Linked DNA regions of Homo sapiens: all the other regions are linked to region 1. The links are contacts of gene promoters, found by promoter capture Hi-C in blood cells and fetal thymus (Javierre and others, 2016). All regions are on one chromosome and are shown on one strand. Each heading gives the region's core, a stretch centred on a gene start or on the middle of the fragment in contact. The rest is flanking DNA. Distances are from core to core; before and after follow the strand shown.

Region 1 (2,853 bases), core at 122-2,621:
CAGCCCATATCTGCAGGTGCATGTCTTCCTCAACAGCCAGCATGCCCTCATCGTGAGCGAGCAACCCCTTTCCGACAGTTAACATTACAATGTATCTTTTTAATTTTTTTTCTCAAGGACAGAAGAAAAAAATATTTAACAGAAATCAGTCTACTATTCTACCACTTGCTGAAACTAACAGTTCCCTTTACATAAATATACAATTTCTCCAACCAAATATCATATTTTATATTTACTCTCACTTCATGTTAATTTTTATAAAGGTTAAAAAAACAAATACTTTGTGATGATTTGCCACCCCAGCGGCACAAAATTTTCTGGTGCAAAATCGATTTGATCTTATTAATTAATATTGTCATTATTATTTATTTTTCACCAACTTGCTTAAGAGGTACATACTTTCTTTCTTAAGGTAGTGTTTTGACAGAGAGAACCTTAATGCTGAACTTTAGAAAAGAGAAACCAAAAATGTCATAAAATTTGCCAGGGCTAGACACACAAACGGGGTGCCCCCACACATTCATAGGTTTGGGCAAGCCCCCAAACCTTGGCTTACCCAGGAAGCCAAACCCAGACAGCCGTCTTGCAATTGCAAACACTGCCCCCCTGGAGCAAAAGGTAAATACACAAATGCTCCCCTAAGGAACTTTAAGTTAGCTGCAGTGCAAGAAAGGAAAAAGGTCCGTGCTATTAGAAACTGAAAGCAATCACTTACTTTTTGCAGCCACTGAGTATAATTTTCCATCACATGTTCCAGATGTTGAAGTTTCTGGGAAGAGAAATCCGGTTCCACGTGTGGAGCATCTCTCTGCAGAGCGTTTGTGTTGTACTGGTCTGTCGTACTCTCACGACAGTTGCCATCGTGTTCTGGAAGAATGAAAGTGTAGGCACATTGCCCATGTTGAATCCGGTTATATCTTCTCCCACTGTTTTCTGGACTTCGGCGCTGATTGCTGCACCCTATGTGAGTCAGAATGGCAGCGAGGAAAGCAAAGGAAAGGAAAACTGTCATTGTACTGCCAGCACACTCCTTCCGTGCCTCTCGCAAAACTTGCTCCTTTCTTCTGACCTCTAAAACTAGTTCTTTATTTCAGGTAAAACTGCTTGTTTGTTTGACTCTTTCCCCCTCAAAGAAAGCGTTTGAAGAAGAATCATAGAAAACTAGCCATTTGTTAGCTTTGTTCTAAAATTTTAAAATTTTTTATTTCACTGCAATGATGTTTTTCTTCGTTAAAACTTGAGATATTTATTGCATAGTAGCTGAGATTTATTGTTTCCTCTCTGTGTGACCGTTCAGCATGGAGCCTGCCTGAGTCAGCTGCGTGTACATATTCTAGACCCTTTCCTCTACCCTATCTGCTGCAGATCTGCTATTTTCTCCCAGACCTCAGTGAGTTTTATTAAGGTTGCACATCCAAGCCAAGCTGGAAGCAGGCAGCCTTTCACAAGATGACTTGACAGGAATGCATGAGTGTGCCCCTATACTAAGGATTGCTGATGGCTTAGGGCGGCGGGATCGTCTTACAAATTGGCTAGATGCGCATGACCTCGATCATGTATGGCCCTCCCGCCCCTTTCCACAGACAATTGCCTTGAGCCTTTAGCAGATTCATGGCAAATCAATAAATAGAGCAGTCCACCTTAATACACTTTTGGTGTGCATGCTGACCTACTAAAATATAGCAAACTAGCAGTATGTTTTTAAAGTTACTATTTAGTCGAGGGACCCTAAGAAGAAAATTGGCATAATGTCCAATGGAATTATTTTTGATAGAGAATGATAAACCCATATCATTATTAAATGTCTTTAAAAAACATGTATTCTTGACTCTGAGGAAAAATATGTTAAAAAACAGTTTTTACAGATGGTATTCTTTCATTGTATTCACTTAGACTTTTAGGAGTTGAAGAAAATAATCAGAGAGGATCAAATTAGCAAGAAAATTAGCATCATTTGTTGCTCAAAGCAATATGTTGCACAAAGCAATATAGTATGTGCATATTAAAGAGGGTTATCTAAGTACCTTTTGGTATAGGGTTCTTAAATGAAACTGGTGTCCTGATCAGAATGCAACCCTTCATGTTCTGTGTATATAAATTGAGCAACTTCCCTACAAAAACAATGTGGCTACAATTTAAAGCAGTGGCTTGAGAATTATTAATTCCTGTGGTATATCCTAATCCTGTATTTTACAAGGATCTCTTTGGTGGCTATGGCTGTCTTTAACACTGGTGTGGAAGTTCCACATAAAAACCTCCTGTGGCTGCACAGACATACTATGTGAGAACAAGCATATATCAGGTGTGCTAACAGCCAGCAATGGGCTGTACAGGAGACATCTCTGTGCTTCTGTGAAGGAAGAAAGAAAAATTATCAGAAGATGATTTCCCACAGGCAGCGTATAAACATTTGAACAAAGGGACCCATAAACATAAACAGGCAATAATTGTAGAATTTAGGGAACGGCTTTGAGATCTTTACTAGATGCAGAAAACCTGAATTATGAGTTGGGATTTTCATTAGGAACTGGGAGGGCTTTTAGACAACTGCAGTCATGGTGTGAAAACAGAAGCCACAGCTGTCATCTCCCATGTCTTGGAAGGAGAACAGGGCAGTGGGTGAAGGTCCGTAGTGGTTAGAGATGGGCATTTAGGGAGAAGTTAGAGGAGAGGTCAAAACAAATTCCAGAACAAATGCGATTTACTTGGGGAAAGAAACCTTGCCGAGATTCATCAGTCCTTTCCACACCAAATAACAAATTTCTGATTGGACAGATATGGAAGCAAGTTATGCCAAACACAGCAATAAAATATTTGAACCACTTTTGCAGCCTCTTGAACTTTTGCGTGTCT
Region 2 (2,700 bases), core at 15-2,514, 260 kb after region 1:
CCTCTCCAAGGTTTGAGCATTTTATGCAAAAATCTCTTGCTGCTCTGACCAAATGATTGGAACAGCCTCTGTTGTTTTTCTCTAAACTCCAAGGAGTTGTGTAGTATCTGGATATAGACCACCTCATAAGAGTTATGTCTAGCCAAATAACATCAAGATTTTTCCAGATGGGATCAGCTTAGTCATGGTTCTTCAGAATTCTCAGAATCATACTGCTTACGTATGTCAAGCTCAGTAGTACATAGTAAAATCCAAAGGGTAAAATAAGGAGCTCACTTTTCTAGATATTCTTCCCTGCTGCAAACTAACTATGGTTCCTTCTTATTCAGCCATAGCACTATGCCTCACCATAAAATAGATACACTATAATTTATTTTTAACAATTGGTCTAACTCCAAATTATTTTGTCAGCACCTTATAGATGTTACAGTGAGCAAAGGAACGTAAAATACTCATGAAATGTTTCTACAGTTCTATACATGAGCCATATGAGGTAGCAGTTCCATCTTGTTAGGACCTAATTCTAGTAAATGAATTCCTCCTCTGCTCTTAAAACTGCCTCTCTTCAATACAATTTCCCACAAATGCCTCCTGGAGAAAATGCCAGCAACGACTTTCACATATTCCATTCTCTCAGGTGGATGTGTAATTTTATACAGTCCCTATCTGCCGCAGGTTCAGGTTTCATTATTTTTTAGGGTTTCCATTATTTATTCTTCCTGACAGTTTGCTTTGTTAGACTACATTGCTGAAGATCTCTGGAATTAAAATACAAGTTAGCAGCACACATTTTATGCTACGGTAGTATAGTAAGTCACTTTATGGTGTCTTGTTCTTTGGTGGTTCCATATGATATTTGTCCTTCCGTCTCACAGTCTGTGGCTAACACAAACTGATTGTAAGTACATAAGGAATTGCCATATTCTTTTCCAGAATGGCTGTACCATTTTATATTCTTACAAACAATGAATAAGGATCTACTTTCTTCACATTCTCACCAGGATTAGATGTTATTACATTTTTTTAAAAATTTTAGCCATTCTGATAGGTGTGTTGTGATATCACATTGTAGTTTCAATTTGCATTTCTTTAATGGCTAATGATACTGAACAGTTTTTCATGTATGTTCATATTTATATCAATGAACTCCTCAGAATGTCCCTTTAAGAAGAATTGAAGTCATAGCCAGTGTTTTCCAATTGAAAGTTAACTTGCATTGCCTTAAAGAAATGTTTAGACATGATCAGTAAATTCTGTGCTTATTGAAGTATTGGTAAACTAGGATTTGAGGTTTTGGCCAGTTACTGTGGGTAACATGTACCTATGAAAATCCTGAGTTCCAAAAATCATCTTGCAACCTATGTTTATTTACTATTTTTTAAAAAATCTTCTAATCATTCCTCAAAGAATTTCAGGCAGCAGGCAGTTCCATTTCTTTGCATATTAGGAATTGCCTATATGTTTGTTTGCTTAGTTCTAAGTATTTTTTAAAGTTATTTATTCAATCATTCAATGAGTATACTTTTTCTATGCTAAGACCCAGGATAAAAAGCCACATAAGGCTCACAAAATCGCTGTTCAAAGAGTTTACAGTCAGTAAGGATTTTAAATAGACAAGGTCATCATTTACCAGTATGTTTCTTAAATGTATTTGTTTTTTCTGTGTTTCAAGTTTAATTTTAGGTTGTTATGTTAAATTTGTGACTAGCTGAAAAAATCAAATTTGGATGCTCATAGATTTCATGACACCCCTTTCTGACACCTTTCTAGTTTCCTTCCTTCTTCTCCACTTTTGCAGCGAGGCATGGAGAGGAGAAGAGAGGCCACAGTGCTCCTCTCTTCCTTCCCCTTCCTACTTCTGGCCAGCTACCAGACAGCAACGAGCAGGAGGCTCATTGTTCCTAGGCTGTCCTCCTCAATCCTATCACAGAGGACTTAAAGTCTGGGCCTCCAAAAACTTTTGAAATTAACAGAAGAAATGTCACTCCTGAAGTATACATTTTTAAAAATCATAGAAATAACCAGTTCATTTTCTAAATTGAGCTGTCAGGAAAAGTACCCTTTCATCATAAGGAAATGTTGCTCACTATATGGTACAATGTAAAGCAAGCTCTAGAATGGATTTGGGTCTCTTTAAACCATTCAGTGAACTTTGGTGTGTGTGTGTACTCTTAAGTTCTGCATTCTGTTCAAGGTGCAGGAGATGTGAAGTCTTTCACACACTGTCCTTTGCTTCAAGGAGCTCACCCTTTAGTGGGAAACAGAAATATAAATTGAGAATTAAAATACAATGTCCAAAGGGTAGTTGTGGGGGGAGAGGATGTGGGAATGGTTACTGAGTACACAAAAATAGATAGAATGAATAAGATCTAGTATTCAATAGCACAGCAGGGAGACTATAGTCAATATAAATTTAATATACATTTAAAAATAAGGATATAATTGGATTGTTTGTAATACAAAGGATAAATGCCTGAGGGGATGAATACCCACCCCATTTACCCTGAAGTGATTATTATTCATGGTATGCCTGTATCAAAATATCTCATGTACCCAATAAATATATACACCTAATATATATGCACAACAAATTAAAAAATCATAATAAAATTAAAATATCCAAAGTGCTTCTGACTTATCATGGGGACATAGAAAGAAGAAAATAGCTCTGTAGCTGGTGACAGAGTGATAAATTAGTGA
Region 3 (2,700 bases), core at 83-2,582, 310 kb before region 1:
TTATGACATTTTTTACTTGTAACTTTGATGCAGGCAAGTATCTGTGGCTTAAAAACCAAATTTGACTCATTTTTTAAAAAGTTCAGAGTAATTTCACTTAGGCTCAGGATTGTCCCTTTGTATGTTTACGTTAAATAGTAATTTAGCCTTTTTCTGAGAGGCTCCACCATTTGAACTACCATAGTGTTCCGCTTTGGTACTTAGGAGAAAAAGCATTAATTTTTATAAAAACTAGGAAGACAAGTGATTACTCAAAGGAGTTATGATCTGTATTTCCCTATTACACATAGGTATTCAATGCTGGAAAAAAAAATTTCACAGTTTCCAAAAATTTATGCTCCAATTGCTTTAATCTGCAAGGGAGATGTCAGGATTGCAGTAGAGGAGGAGGACTGTTTCTAACTGAGAAATCCCTGTCCTGCTCACCAGCCTTGCTGTCTGTGAATCTGAAGCCTTTTAAAATTTGGGAGAATTCATTCCCTTGCTCTTCACTTCATTATCTTAAGTTCATGAATGTTCTCCACTCTTCTCTGGCTCTTTCAAGAATAATTAGTACACTCATCAATTTCCCTGTCCTGGCTCATTTGACAAACAAGTGCCATATGAGTCAAATGTTTGCATTCTGTGCTGAGCAGAATTGAGGGGCAGTTTCTAAATCTGTAGGTTTCACAGCAGTGGTACTCCCAGGAGAGTCATAAGTGAATTTGTGGCAATGCAAGCAGCTCTGGACGGCTGACAGGGTTGCGTTACATCTTTGAATTGGCCTTTCATTTCAGTGATTAACAGGTGAGGTTCAGGAAGCCTTTTGTTTCAGCTCCAATTAATTCAACAGCCTACTTTACTTTGTTCCCGTCTATGAAACCAGAATACCAGGCTTCCAGAAGAATATTTCTGCACATATATTTTAGAAATGACAGAGCTAGAAAAATCAAATGCAAAGCTTGGTAGTAAGCATAATTTCCTGGGTTTTTAAAATAATTTAATAAACAGAATAAATTATTTCAAGCTATATATCTCCCTAAAAATTCTTAATATCACATTACAAATTATGATTGTTAAGCATTAAGATGAATCCTAAATCAGCCATTTTCCTGATTTTCTTCCTTTTCTCCCCAAGTACCTATACCTGGGCAATATAGTTGCTATTGCAAAGGATGATTATAAAGGAGAGTGGGGGATGTAATAATATAATTCGTTAATATTTGTTTTCATAGAGGGTTAACAAACTGCAAGAGTGAGTGGGCAAGATAACTCTTTTGGGAAGTTTCTCCAAATTGCATTGCTATCTCTTCTTTCATCAAGCATATGTGACATACCTACTGCATACTGAGTATTACAGTTGGCTGTGTGTGAGTACTAAGAAAAAACTACATTGTTTCTGCCTCTCTGAGAATGAGAGACACACCAGTGACACATAAAGAGTAATACACGTAGCTTAAAGGGTCAAGGAGTTAAAAATAGAAGAGATGGCACCCTGGATTTGAGGCTGTCAGAAGTTTCTTGACTTTTAAGAAAGAAAAAGGAAATATATTGAAGGCAAGAGACACAGAAGCAATGAGAATCAAGTATGTACACCAGAAGGGTAAGGCTGAGTCAGTGGAACATACTGGGAGGAGTAGGATGTCATTTAAATGGCTATGGAAGCTGTTATTCACAGGTTAAGAATAACGGAACTCATAGTGTCAGTGAAACGCTAGCTTCTTAATCAGGACTCTGATGTGGATAAAGCTTTTGTACCTTTTCTTACTGCCATCTGAATCAGACTTGATGTTCAGGAACAGTTAAAGCTCACGTATGAAAGGACAATTTGGACAAACTAATCAAGCATTAGTAATACGAATAATCAAGAGAGTGCTCAAAATCATCTAATGTTGGTTTGTTTTCCTGAGGTTAATAGTAATTAAAATTGATCAATATTAATAAATTTGTTTAATGGTTCCAAGTAACTTTAAATATTAAGAGTTCCTTTGGCCATCCATGTTTCCAAGTGATCTTCCTTAAATAATTATGAGGCAAATTTATTACCCGAGATGTGATCAAATCCAGACATCTAAGACAGGAAACCTACAGAGCAGGTTATTGACATATTCTATTCCTTATCATGACACTTAAAGCCCTGGAAAGTTAAGGGCTTCTTATTCACAAGTTTATGGGATTCATTGGAACCAACAATGACCTTGTAATCCCTGTAGTCAGTATTCAGAGAAATCTTGCCAACAATATAACTGAAAGCAGAGCTGTCATTATAAAATCTAGATTTAAAGTAGGGATTTATGATTGGTACAATGTTCATGATATGCATTGCAGTGTGAATTAGGCTATGATATAGCTTGACATTCACTGGAGATATTTTAAAAGCAAAACTTGGCTTTAGTTTTAGTCAATAGTTTCTTTATCTAAAACAGAAGAAAGTATTATCAATGCATCAATCAAAGTTTCAGAGATTTTGGAATGTGCAATTATTAATGGACTCGGGAGGCTTTGCAAATTGTCTACCTAAAATGACTTCAATGTTATTTTTATTTTTAATGCGAATACTAAAGTTATTTGATTATAGCAACTTTGCCTTACACTTACTCAAGAACAGATACATGATCCTGCTTTTAAGCTGAGTTTAAAGTTTAGAGAGATTCCAAAATGTAAGTAAACATTGTAATCAATACCACCCTTTTGACAAGACTCAGGGAAATACATTAAAAA
Region 4 (2,700 bases), core at 115-2,614, 310 kb after region 1:
GCATTTGCCATGAGCAGACGATTTTGACTTTATCTCAAGCCATCAGATAGGACAGGATCTTTCTAAGACATTGACCACAGCAGATAAAGACAAAAAAAATAAATAAAACCACAACTCTCTATCATAGAACACTGAGAATCAAACATATTGTTAGAAGTCAGATAATCCAACCTTTTTGCAGTTATATAAATTTTGAACATCCTTAATTAAAACATCATTTTTAACAGAGATCTTATGTTCTTGTCTTTCCAGCATCCTTTTCTTTGGTATTTTGTTAGCTACTCCCTTATTTTATTTTGAAGAACTATCCCTCCCACAATTTTATTTCATGTCGTTCTGGTGAAGCTGATTCTACTTCTGGCTTTTGTGAGAGGTGTGTTTTTTCACCAGTCTCAAAAGTGGCGGTTGAAATTATCTCATCTCCAGGCTGCAGTGATTGGCTCAGGGTGGACATGTGGCCCAAGCCAAACCAAATATAGCTAATCCTGGGACTATTGCTGGAATTTTTTAAGAAACAGCAACTCTCTTTTTTTAAGGGATTGCTAATCAGGCAGGATATAGTCCTGAAACTTCTGGAGGCCACAGTGCTTCCTCTTGGAGACAGCCTGCCTGAGAATGAGGCCAACAGAGAGAAGCAGAGGTTGTGGTTGGAACAAATAATGTTCCCGGAGACATTATTTGATTACCTGGATTTAGCCATGCTGGGACATTTTAGTTAAATAAACCAGGATATTCCTTTTTGGGCCAAAGGCAACTTATGATGAGTTTCTGTCCAATAAAGCGCAAAGCAACCAATTCACCTTCTACAACTTCCATGGCAGGAAGTGATTAGCCTTCTCTTTAATCATTCCAGATGGACAGATCTTCATTTTCTACCAGGACTCTGGGTATTGGGTTCTGAGGCTCAGTTCTTCCTTGTATTGAGCAAAATCTGCTGTCTTTAATCTGTACCCACTACTAATGCTTTATTTGTTCATGCAGTTCCTTGTTTAGTTAGGGAACGGCAAGTATAAGAGATTTGAGGTGGATTCGAATTTTTGTATGTTGAAGGAACACAAAGCAAAAAACCAAAAACTAATAGGTCTTGACCCTAGTGAGTGAGGGGCATGGAGACATAAGTGGGTGAAGGTCTGTCATAGGAAGATTGGAGTTCATTGCAAGAATAATGAAAAGTCACGGGAGTGTTAACACACAGGAATAGTGTGGTTTGAGCTACAATGTTTCAAAGATCCCATATTATATCCATTGAAGCACTAGAGGAAGCCAAATCTCTGTGCTACTGACAGTCCCTCAGAAAGTTGAGATCTCTGGTATCCTCCATAATTTTCTTCTTTTCTAGCTTAAATATCTTTGGCTTCTTCAACCATGTTTCATATAGGGTTTGTAGATTCTACAACAACACAGTATCCTCCTCCAAACTCATTGTAGTTTGTCAATGTGCCCTCTAAAATACAGTACTCAGATTGAACACAGTAACTCCAGATATTGCCCAACCAATGAATAATATGAAATCATTATTTTCTTTATTCTATCCCTCGAGCCCTATTGGTGCAGTCACATTTAAGGCAACCATGTCATCCTGTTAACTCTTAATTAAATCAATAATGCTAGCTGAGGGCATATTACTTTCAATTAAGTCAAGTTCTAATTAATTGTTATTTTGTGAGAGAAATATACAGAAACTTATTTTCTGAGTGGATTAAAGACTCCTTGAAGGTCTTTATATTACAAGAAAACAGGGACAAAAGTTGATCTCATTCAACTTTTGTACCTACAAATTGAGATAAGAAAAAGTGAAGTTTAATTTGAACAAATGACCCGATTGTATCTGGAATTATTAATTTGAACAAATGACCAGATTGTATCTGGAATTATAATCCCATTAGGGGATTAGCCCGTTTGTAGCCACCATGGAGAGAAGCCTTTAAGGAATACATATTTAAAGCCATTTGCAACCAGCTCTATTATTAAAATCAATTTTAAAGCATCATAAAAGTCTTTTGCTCCAGAATTAGAAACAGTTTTAACAAAAGCATTGAATTTTTATGTTTGAAGAATCTTTGGAAATCATCTGATCCAAAGTTTTTATTTTATAGATAAGCCAATAGCCATAGAGGCAGAGAAATGTCCAAATTGACTTATCCAGGCAATAATAGAACCAGAACCAGAACTTAGATCTCTTCTCTTCCATTCCAGCACTCTGCCTGCCATAACACATGCCTCCTTTCTTCAGCTTTGACTGTACACTTGAATGTTTTCATTTCAGGGGTCTGTCATTCATGAATGAATTGGGGGAGAACAAGAGTGAATGTGGGGAAAGCCATCTTAAAGATTGTTGCAGTGATTCAGGGAAGTCCAGAGTTCTGAAACAGGGGAAGGGTAGAGGAGGTATGTAAAGCTGCACATATTCCAGATATGGCTAGGAGTTTGAGAAAAAGAGAAAAAAACGAGGATGAACATTGAGTTTCTGACATGAACAACAAGATGGTTAGCAACGCCATTCACAGAAAAACTAGGTTATAGCGGTGAAAAGCAAGAGATTAGTTTGGCCCACTGATTTTGTGCAACATTCTACACACTCAGTTGGAAATGTCCTTTAGGCAGTTGTAGATACATGTCTGGGGTTCAGGAAGAGAAAGTGCAATAAGTACCTTTGGCTCACTCTTTCTTTGAACAAATAATATGGGAACATTGATTTAC

Evidence for each region. The method cuts DNA at HindIII sites, captures the fragments that hold promoters and counts their contacts. A CHiCAGO score of 5 or more calls a contact.
Region 2: a contact is called between a fragment that was not itself captured here and the fragment with the promoter of ANGPT1 in region 1, in 1 of 17 cell types (neutrophils). The highest score is 6.0, in neutrophils.
Region 3: a fragment that was not itself captured here is called in contact with the fragment with the promoter of ANGPT1 in region 1 in 1 of 17 cell types (megakaryocytes); the score reaches 5.6 in megakaryocytes.
Region 4: a fragment that was not itself captured here is called in contact with the fragment with the promoter of ANGPT1 in region 1 in 1 of 17 cell types (neutrophils); the score reaches 8.1 in neutrophils.

Annotation. Positions count from the first base shown.
Region 1 is chr8:107,496,547-107,499,399 of GRCh38, forward strand. It overlaps ANGPT1 (angiopoietin 1), which reads right to left and starts at 1,372. Exons shown (of 9, transcript NM_001146.5): 1 at 716-1,372. The coding sequence starts at 1,012. The HindIII fragment of the contact is 4,855 bases long and covers 1-2,853 here.
Region 2 is chr8:107,757,813-107,760,512 of GRCh38, forward strand. No RefSeq gene overlaps it. Among named protein-coding and RNA genes, the nearest start is that of ANGPT1, 260 kb to the left of the region's middle. The HindIII fragment of the contact is 3,812 bases long and covers 1-2,700 here.
Region 3 is chr8:107,188,666-107,191,365 of GRCh38, forward strand. No RefSeq gene overlaps it. Among named protein-coding and RNA genes, the nearest start is that of ANGPT1, 310 kb to the right of the region's middle. The HindIII fragment of the contact is 788 bases long and covers 939-1,726 here.
Region 4 is chr8:107,808,562-107,811,261 of GRCh38, forward strand. No RefSeq gene overlaps it. Among named protein-coding and RNA genes, the nearest start is that of RSPO2, 270 kb to the right of the region's middle. The HindIII fragment of the contact is 5,175 bases long and covers 1-2,700 here.